2 separate regions of the Homo sapiens genome follow, and region 1 is linked to region 2. The links are contacts of gene promoters, found by promoter capture Hi-C in human tissues and cell types (Jung and others, 2019). All regions are on one chromosome and are shown on one strand. Each heading gives the region's core, a stretch centred on a gene start or on the middle of the fragment in contact. The rest is flanking DNA. Distances are from core to core; before and after follow the strand shown. Region 1 holds the start of ZFP36 (ZFP36 ring finger protein). Region 2 overlaps CATSPERG (catsper channel auxiliary subunit gamma).

Region 1 (3,085 bases), core at 87-2,586, 1.1 Mb before region 2:
CGGCCCTGGAGGTAGAACTTGTGACAGAGTTCCGTCTTGTATTTGGGGTGGCGATTGGCCTGGCGCAGCTCGCCCAGGCCATGGGCAAACTGGCACTTGGCCCCGTAGCGGCAGCGCCCACTCTCTGAGAAGGTCCGACATAGCTCAGTCTTGTAGCGCGAGGGGGTGGTGGAGGTTGCAGTGGGCGAAGTGGGTGAGGGTGACAGCTCAGGGCCCAGGCGGGGAGCCAGCGGTGCGAAGCCAGGGGGTGGGGGCACCCAGCCACAGCTGCGGCCCTCCACTAGGCTGGTGGAGCGGCCAGGCAGGCGGGAGGTGACCCCAGACGGGCTGGAGTCGGAGGGGCTCAGGCTCCAGGGTCCCGAGGAGCCCCAGCCTGGGCTGGACTCAGTCCCTCCATGGTCGGATGGCACGGGCACGTCAGGGCTCAGCGACAGGAGGCTCTGCGGAAATGGGTCGGTTAAGGCACCTGAAAATGCAGGGCGACGCCCCACCCCAGCTGCAGGGAACTAGAGCTTGCCAGGCCGGTTTGTGGGCTCCCCGCCTGAGCCCCACCCGCCCGCAGAAACCCCTGGGTTCCGGATGCCAGGAACCCAGAGTTGGAGGTTCTGAGTTTACCCACCACCGAGGCCTTATCCCGAGGGACCCAGGAATCCCGGCTTCCCCGGCTGGACCAAGAGGGGGACCCCGAAGTCAGGGCGCACCACTGTTTCCCAATTTTGGGTCTCTTGTCCTCCCCGGATATGACCCACGCGTCGGGATCTCCAGTTTCACAACTGGAGAAACCGGGCAAAGTTGACCTGGAAGTCCGGATTGCTTCGGTTTTAGGGTTCTCTGTCTCTACGGTCAGGGACTGGAGAGACAGAAGTCGGATCCCCCCACCCTGAGACTTCAGCCCCAGAGACGCCTCCGCGCAAAACCACGCCCTCAGCAACGACTAGGGGTGAGCCAGGTATGGGGGCCACTTCCGCCTCCAGGCAGCCTCGGTCTGAGAAAAGTTCTCCGACTTTCCACTTGCATGGGCCGCCCCACCCATGTTTGAGCGAAGAGCCGGGTGTCGCGGGTTCCATTTTCACCTCCAAATCACCAAGCTGGTCTGAGCGGGAGGCAGGGGCCCCAGGCTGGAGGGCGCGGCGCTAGGGAGCCCCAGTTGGAGAAGGGAGGCAAGCGTCCCGGGCTGGAGTTTGCGGCGCTAGAGAGGTGGGGACTCGGACTCAGGCATGCAGGTACCGGGGATGCCGTGCGGCGGGGACTCACCTCGTAGATGGCAGTCAGATCCATGGTGTAACGGTTGGCCATGAGGGGTGTCGGCCGAGAGTGGGAGCGCTGAAGTCAGGCTGAGGCTGGCACCGAGAGCCGGCTACTTATAGGAAACTGCAAGCACGGGGCGGGGCCGGGGCCGGGGCCGGGGGCGGGGCAGGAGGGGCGCTTCCCGGACGCGCGCCCCCGGCGCAGCCTGGCTGGCCCTGGACTGGTTCCCTTCCGCCCGGCCCTGGGCCAGGACGCGCCTGAGCTTGGCCGGTGGACAGCCGTGACCGAGCGGGGAATGCGTGGGGAAGGGGTGGGGGTGCGGATGGGGGGACGCCTGCCCAGTTTTCAAAGCTGGAGACTGAGGCTTGTAGAAGGAAACTGGGGCGGAGGTGGGGGCAGGGCCCCAGGGGCAATTGACAAGAGCAGAAGCCCGATGGGGGTGCGCGTGCGACACAGACGGATGGGGGCGGGGAGAGACGCAGAGGGGTACAGACAGGCAGACAGGCAGAGAGAAAAACATCGAGAGAGACACACACACCAAGAGACATACAGAGAGAGATAGACAGGGTGAGGAAGGGAGGGAAGACGGGGAGACAGAGACAGTCCCAGAGACAGATTCAGAGGGAGAAGAGGGTTGGGAGGATCACAAAAAGAAACAGAAAGGGGCTGAGCGCAGTGGCTCACACCTGTGATCCCAGCACTTTTTGTGTTTTTCTTTCCTTTTTCTTCTTCTTTTTTTTTTTTTTTGAAAGACGGGGTTTCCCTATGTTGCCCAGGCTAATCTCCAGCTCCGGGGCTCAAGCGATCCTCCCACCTCCGCCTCCCAAAGAGCTGGAATTACAGGTGTGAGCCACCAAGCCCGGCCAATCCCAGTACTTTCAGAGGATGAGGCAGGTGGATTACCTGAGATCAGGAGTTCAAGATCAGCCTGGGCAACAGTGAGATCCCATGTCTACAAAAAATACTATTTAAAAAAATTAAAAAGAAAAAGAAACTGGACAAAAAGGAGAAAGACTGTGAGAAATAAGCACTTACGGAAAGAAATCTGCAGAGCAAAGTGCCAAGAAAGAGCCAGCAGGCCTTGGAGGGGAATTCTCTGAGAACTGCCTGCCTTGTGTGGTCTCACTCCTAAACAGCCCAGACAGATAAGGAGACCTGGACTGCTCTCCCTCTCCCCACTTGCTGGGGTTGGGTGGGTGAGTGAGTGGGTTGGGTGGGGTCCAGGATACCTGGCAAGGCTGAAAAGGGGCCTCCTTTCCCAATTCACAGGGCGGCTCTAGCCCCCTCACCCTCGGGCGGATGATCTCTTCTAGGCTGAGTTAAGGAGAACTCACCTGGGCTGAGTTCTAAGTACTTTACGCACATTAATCCTAATGCCAGGTGGTATGCCCATTTAAGGCAGGAGGAAACCAAAGTGAAGTTACTCTCCTGCCCGGCTCACACCTGTAGTCCTAGCACTTTGGGCGCCCAAGGCAGGCGGATCACTAGAGCTCGGAGTCTGAGACTAGCCTGGGCAACACGGCGAATCCCCATTTCTACAAAAATGCAAAAATTAGCTGAGTGTGGTGGCGCACACCCTGTGGTCCCGCTACTCGGGGGCGGGGAGGGAGCAGGCTGGGGTGGGAGAGTCGCTTGAACCCAGGAGGCAGAGGTTGCAATGAGCCGAGATCAGGCGACTGCACTCCAGCCTGGGCCACAGAGCGAGACTCCCTCTCAGGGGGAAAAATAAAGTTACTCTCCTAGTTCGAGCTAGCAAATGGCACAGGCCTCATACTAGGGTCTGAAATTATGTCGAGGTTTGCCCTCTGAGAAAACTCAAGATTGGCAAGGTGGAGGT
Region 2 (3,483 bases), core at 223-2,722:
CACCAAGGGGAGGCCTTGGTTGCTGTGGGACCAGGGCGAGGGATTTACCAGATTCAGCACCTGTGCACAGCCCTTCATCGAGAGGGCTGACTTTCTTTACTTTCTTTGCCAGGCTCCTTTCTTTTCCTTTTTTTTTTTTTTTTCAAGAAGGAGTCTCACTCTGTCGCCCAGGCTACAGTGCAGTGGCATGATCTCGACTCACTGCAGCCTCTGTCTCCTGGGTTCAAGTGATTCTCCTGCCTCAGCCTCCTGAGTAGCTGGGACTACACACGTGCACCACCATGCCCAGCTAATTTTTGTATTTTTAGTAAAGATGAGGTTTCACCACGTTGGCCAGCCTGGTCTCAAACTCCTGACCTCAACTGATCTGCGCGCTTCGGCCTCCCAAAGTGCTGGGATTACAGGCATGAGCCACCAGGCCATTCTTTCTTTGAAAACTGTTTAATTTTTGTAGAGACAGAGTCTACTCTGTTGCCCAGGCTGGCTATTTCTGTAATTTATTTATTTATTTATTTATTTATTTATTTTTTACATGGGACAGGGTCTTGCTATGTTGGCCAGGTTGGTCTTGAACTCTTGGCCTCAAGCAATCCTCCAGCCTTAGCCTCCTAAAATGCTAGGATTACAGGTGTAAGCCACTGCACCTGGCTTTTTTTTTTTTTTTTTAAGATAAGGTCTTGCTCTGTTGCCCAGTCCGGAGTGCAGTGGTGCCATCACAGCTCACTGTAACCTCCACCTCTCCCAGACTTCAGCAATCCTCTTACCTCAGCCTCCCAAATAGCTGGGACTACAGGTACCACTACCACGCCTGGCTAATTTTTTTATTTTTTATTTTTTTTCCGAGACGGAGTTTTGCACTTGTTGCCCAGGCTGGAGTATAAGGGCGCCATCTCAGCTCATTGCACCCTCTGCCTCCTAGGTTCAGGCGATCGTCCTGCCTCAGCCTCCCAAGTAGCTGGGATTACAGGCATGCGCCACCACGCCCGGCTAATTTTTGCATTTTTAGTAGAGATGGGGTTTCACCATGTTGGTCAGGCTAGTCTCGAACTCCTGAACTCAGGTGATCCACCTGCCCTGGCCTCCCAAAGTGCTGGGATTACAGGCATGAGCCACTATGCCCGGCCCAATTTTTTGATTTTTTTTGTAGAGACAGGGTCTCCCTATGTTGTCCAGGCTGGTCTTGAATTCTTGGGCTCAAGCAATCTTCTCTCCCTGGCCTCCCAAAGTGCTGGGATTATAGGTATGAGCCACCACACCCAGCACCAGGCTCTTTTCAATCCTGTCAACTACACCTGTCCCTGGCCCTGCCTGAGTTCCCATTGCAGAGGAGAAGGTGCTAGTGGGGCAGGGACCTCCTTCCTGTGAGGATGACAGTAGCCACTAACACCCTGGTCCTGTCCCCGTCATCTCCTGCCTGGGCAATGTAGCAGCCTCCTCCTTGTCTCACTGCTCCTGCCCTGCTCCCCCAACAACAGGAGGGAGCCAGTGAAGCCTGGAATCAGATCCAATCCCTCCTCTGCATAGGGCCCTCTCAGGCTCTGTCTCAGAGTAAAAGCCAAGTCCTCACCATGGCCCATCAAGCCCCAAAAACCTTCCCCCATCACTTCCCTGACCTCTCCTCCCACACTCCCTCTCACTCACTCTGCTCCAGCCACAAAGTCCTCTTCATAGTTTCTCACACATGCTGACCTCTTTCCTACCTCTGGGCCATCGTGCTGGCTCTTCCCTCGGCCTGGAAAGCTTTACCTGGCTCTCCTAATAATCCCCACTTTTTATCATTTGAGTCTCTGCTCAAGCCTTTCCAGAGTGACCTTCTCCAACGACCCCCACTAAAACAGTGCCCCCCCCTCCTTTCTAACGTATTACCTCATTTTATTATTTGCATTTATTAATACTACTCTCAGAAATTCTTTCATGCCAGCCTTAGGCAACATAGTGAGACCCTGTCTAATTGAAAGTACACTGGTGTGATGGCTTGAGCCTGTAGTCCCTGCTACTTGGGAGGCTGAGGCAGGAGGATCACTTCAGCCCAGGAGGTCGAGGCTGCAATGAGCTATGATCAAGCCACTGCATTTCAGCCTGGGTGACAGCGCAAGACCCTGTCTCTAAAAAAATAAAATTATTGGCCGGGCGCGGTGGCTCACATCTATAATCCCAGCACTTTGGGAGGCCGAGGCAGGTGGATCACCTGAGGTCAGGAGTTCAAGACCAGCCTGACCAATATGGAGAAACCCCATCTCTACCAAAAATACAAAATTAGCCGGGCGTGGTGGCGCACATCTGTAGTCCCAGCTACTTGGGCAGCTGAGGCAGGAGAATCGCTTGAACCCAGAATGTGTAGGCTGTACTGAGCCGAGATCATGCCACTGTACTCCAGCCTGGGTGACAGAGTGAGACCCTGTCTCAAAAAAAGAAAAAAAAAAAGACTCTGTGATACTGGCATATGAATAGGCATTTAGAGCAATGAATTATTGAGAAATCAATTCATTTAGAATAGAATTGAGTCCAGAAAGAAACCCTTATATTTATATTCAATTGATTTTTGACAAAGGTGCCAAGACAATTCAGCGGGGAAAGAATAATCTCAACAGGCCAGGCATGGTGGCTCACGCCTGTAGTCCCAGCACTTTGGGAGGCCAAGGCAGGTGGATCACCTGAGGTCAGGAGTTCGAGACCAGCCTGGCCAACATGGTGAAACCCTGTCTCTACTAAAATATAAAAATTAGCCAGGCATGGTGGCGCATGCCTGTAATTCCTGCTACTCAGTAGGCTGAGGCAGGAGAATCGCTTGAACCTGGGAGGGGGAGGTTGCAGTGAGCCAAGATCACGCCACTGCACTCCAGCCTGGGTGGCAGAATGAGATTTTGTCTCAAAAAAAAAAAAGAAGAATCTCACCAAACGGCATTGGGACAACTGGATATGCACGTGTAAAAGCTTGGACCTCACACCATATACAAAAATTAACTCAAAATGGATGAAAGACCTAAATGTAAGAGCTAAAACTAAAAATCTCTTGAAGAAAATATGAGTAAGTCTTCATGATCTTTAGTTACGCAAGGCCTTTGTAAATGACACAAAAAACACAAGCAAAAAAAAGAAAAAAATTTATAAACTGGGCTTCACCAAAATTAAAAACTTTAATTCCTGCTACTCAGGAGGCTGAGGCAGGAGAATCGCTTAGAACCCAGGAGGCAGAGACTGCAGTGTGCCGAGATTGCGCCACTGCACTCCAGCCTGGGCGACAGAGTGTTAGGAGAAGCTGAGGCAGGGCTTGCATGTCTGACATAATGTAAAAGAGTCTTGGAACATGTCCGGGGTCCAGGGTCTAAAACCCCTTGTGGCCTTTGGAACACCAAGCTCTGTGCTAAAGGGTGGAAGCCTACCATCATGCACCATAATCTAAGCCAAGGGCATAAAATCCCTCATGGCCTCGATAGAATCCAGGGCTCATGGCTCTGGAATGTGTCTAGACTTGCTTGCTCC

What was found. The method cuts DNA at HindIII sites, captures the fragments that hold promoters and counts their contacts. A contact is called where the count stands out against the background at its distance.
Region 1: the fragment with the promoter of ZFP36 here is called in contact with a fragment that was not itself captured in region 2 in 1 of the 25 tissues and cell types used here (hippocampus).

The regions. Positions count from the first base shown.
Region 1 is chr19:39,405,098-39,408,182 of GRCh38, reverse strand. ZFP36 (ZFP36 ring finger protein) reads right to left here and starts at 1,336. Exons shown (of 2, transcript NM_003407.5): 1 at 1,255-1,336; 2 at 1-440. The coding sequence starts at 1,278. RefSeq lists enhancers at 1-284, 285-922, 973-1,172 and a silencer at 1,293-1,742. The HindIII fragment of the contact is 20,061 bases long and covers 1-3,085 here.
Region 2 is chr19:38,339,261-38,342,743 of GRCh38, reverse strand. The region is part of intron 3 of CATSPERG (catsper channel auxiliary subunit gamma); the gene reads right to left. Among named protein-coding and RNA genes, the nearest start is that of CATSPERG, 5.2 kb to the right of the region's middle. The HindIII fragment of the contact is 4,605 bases long and covers 1-3,483 here.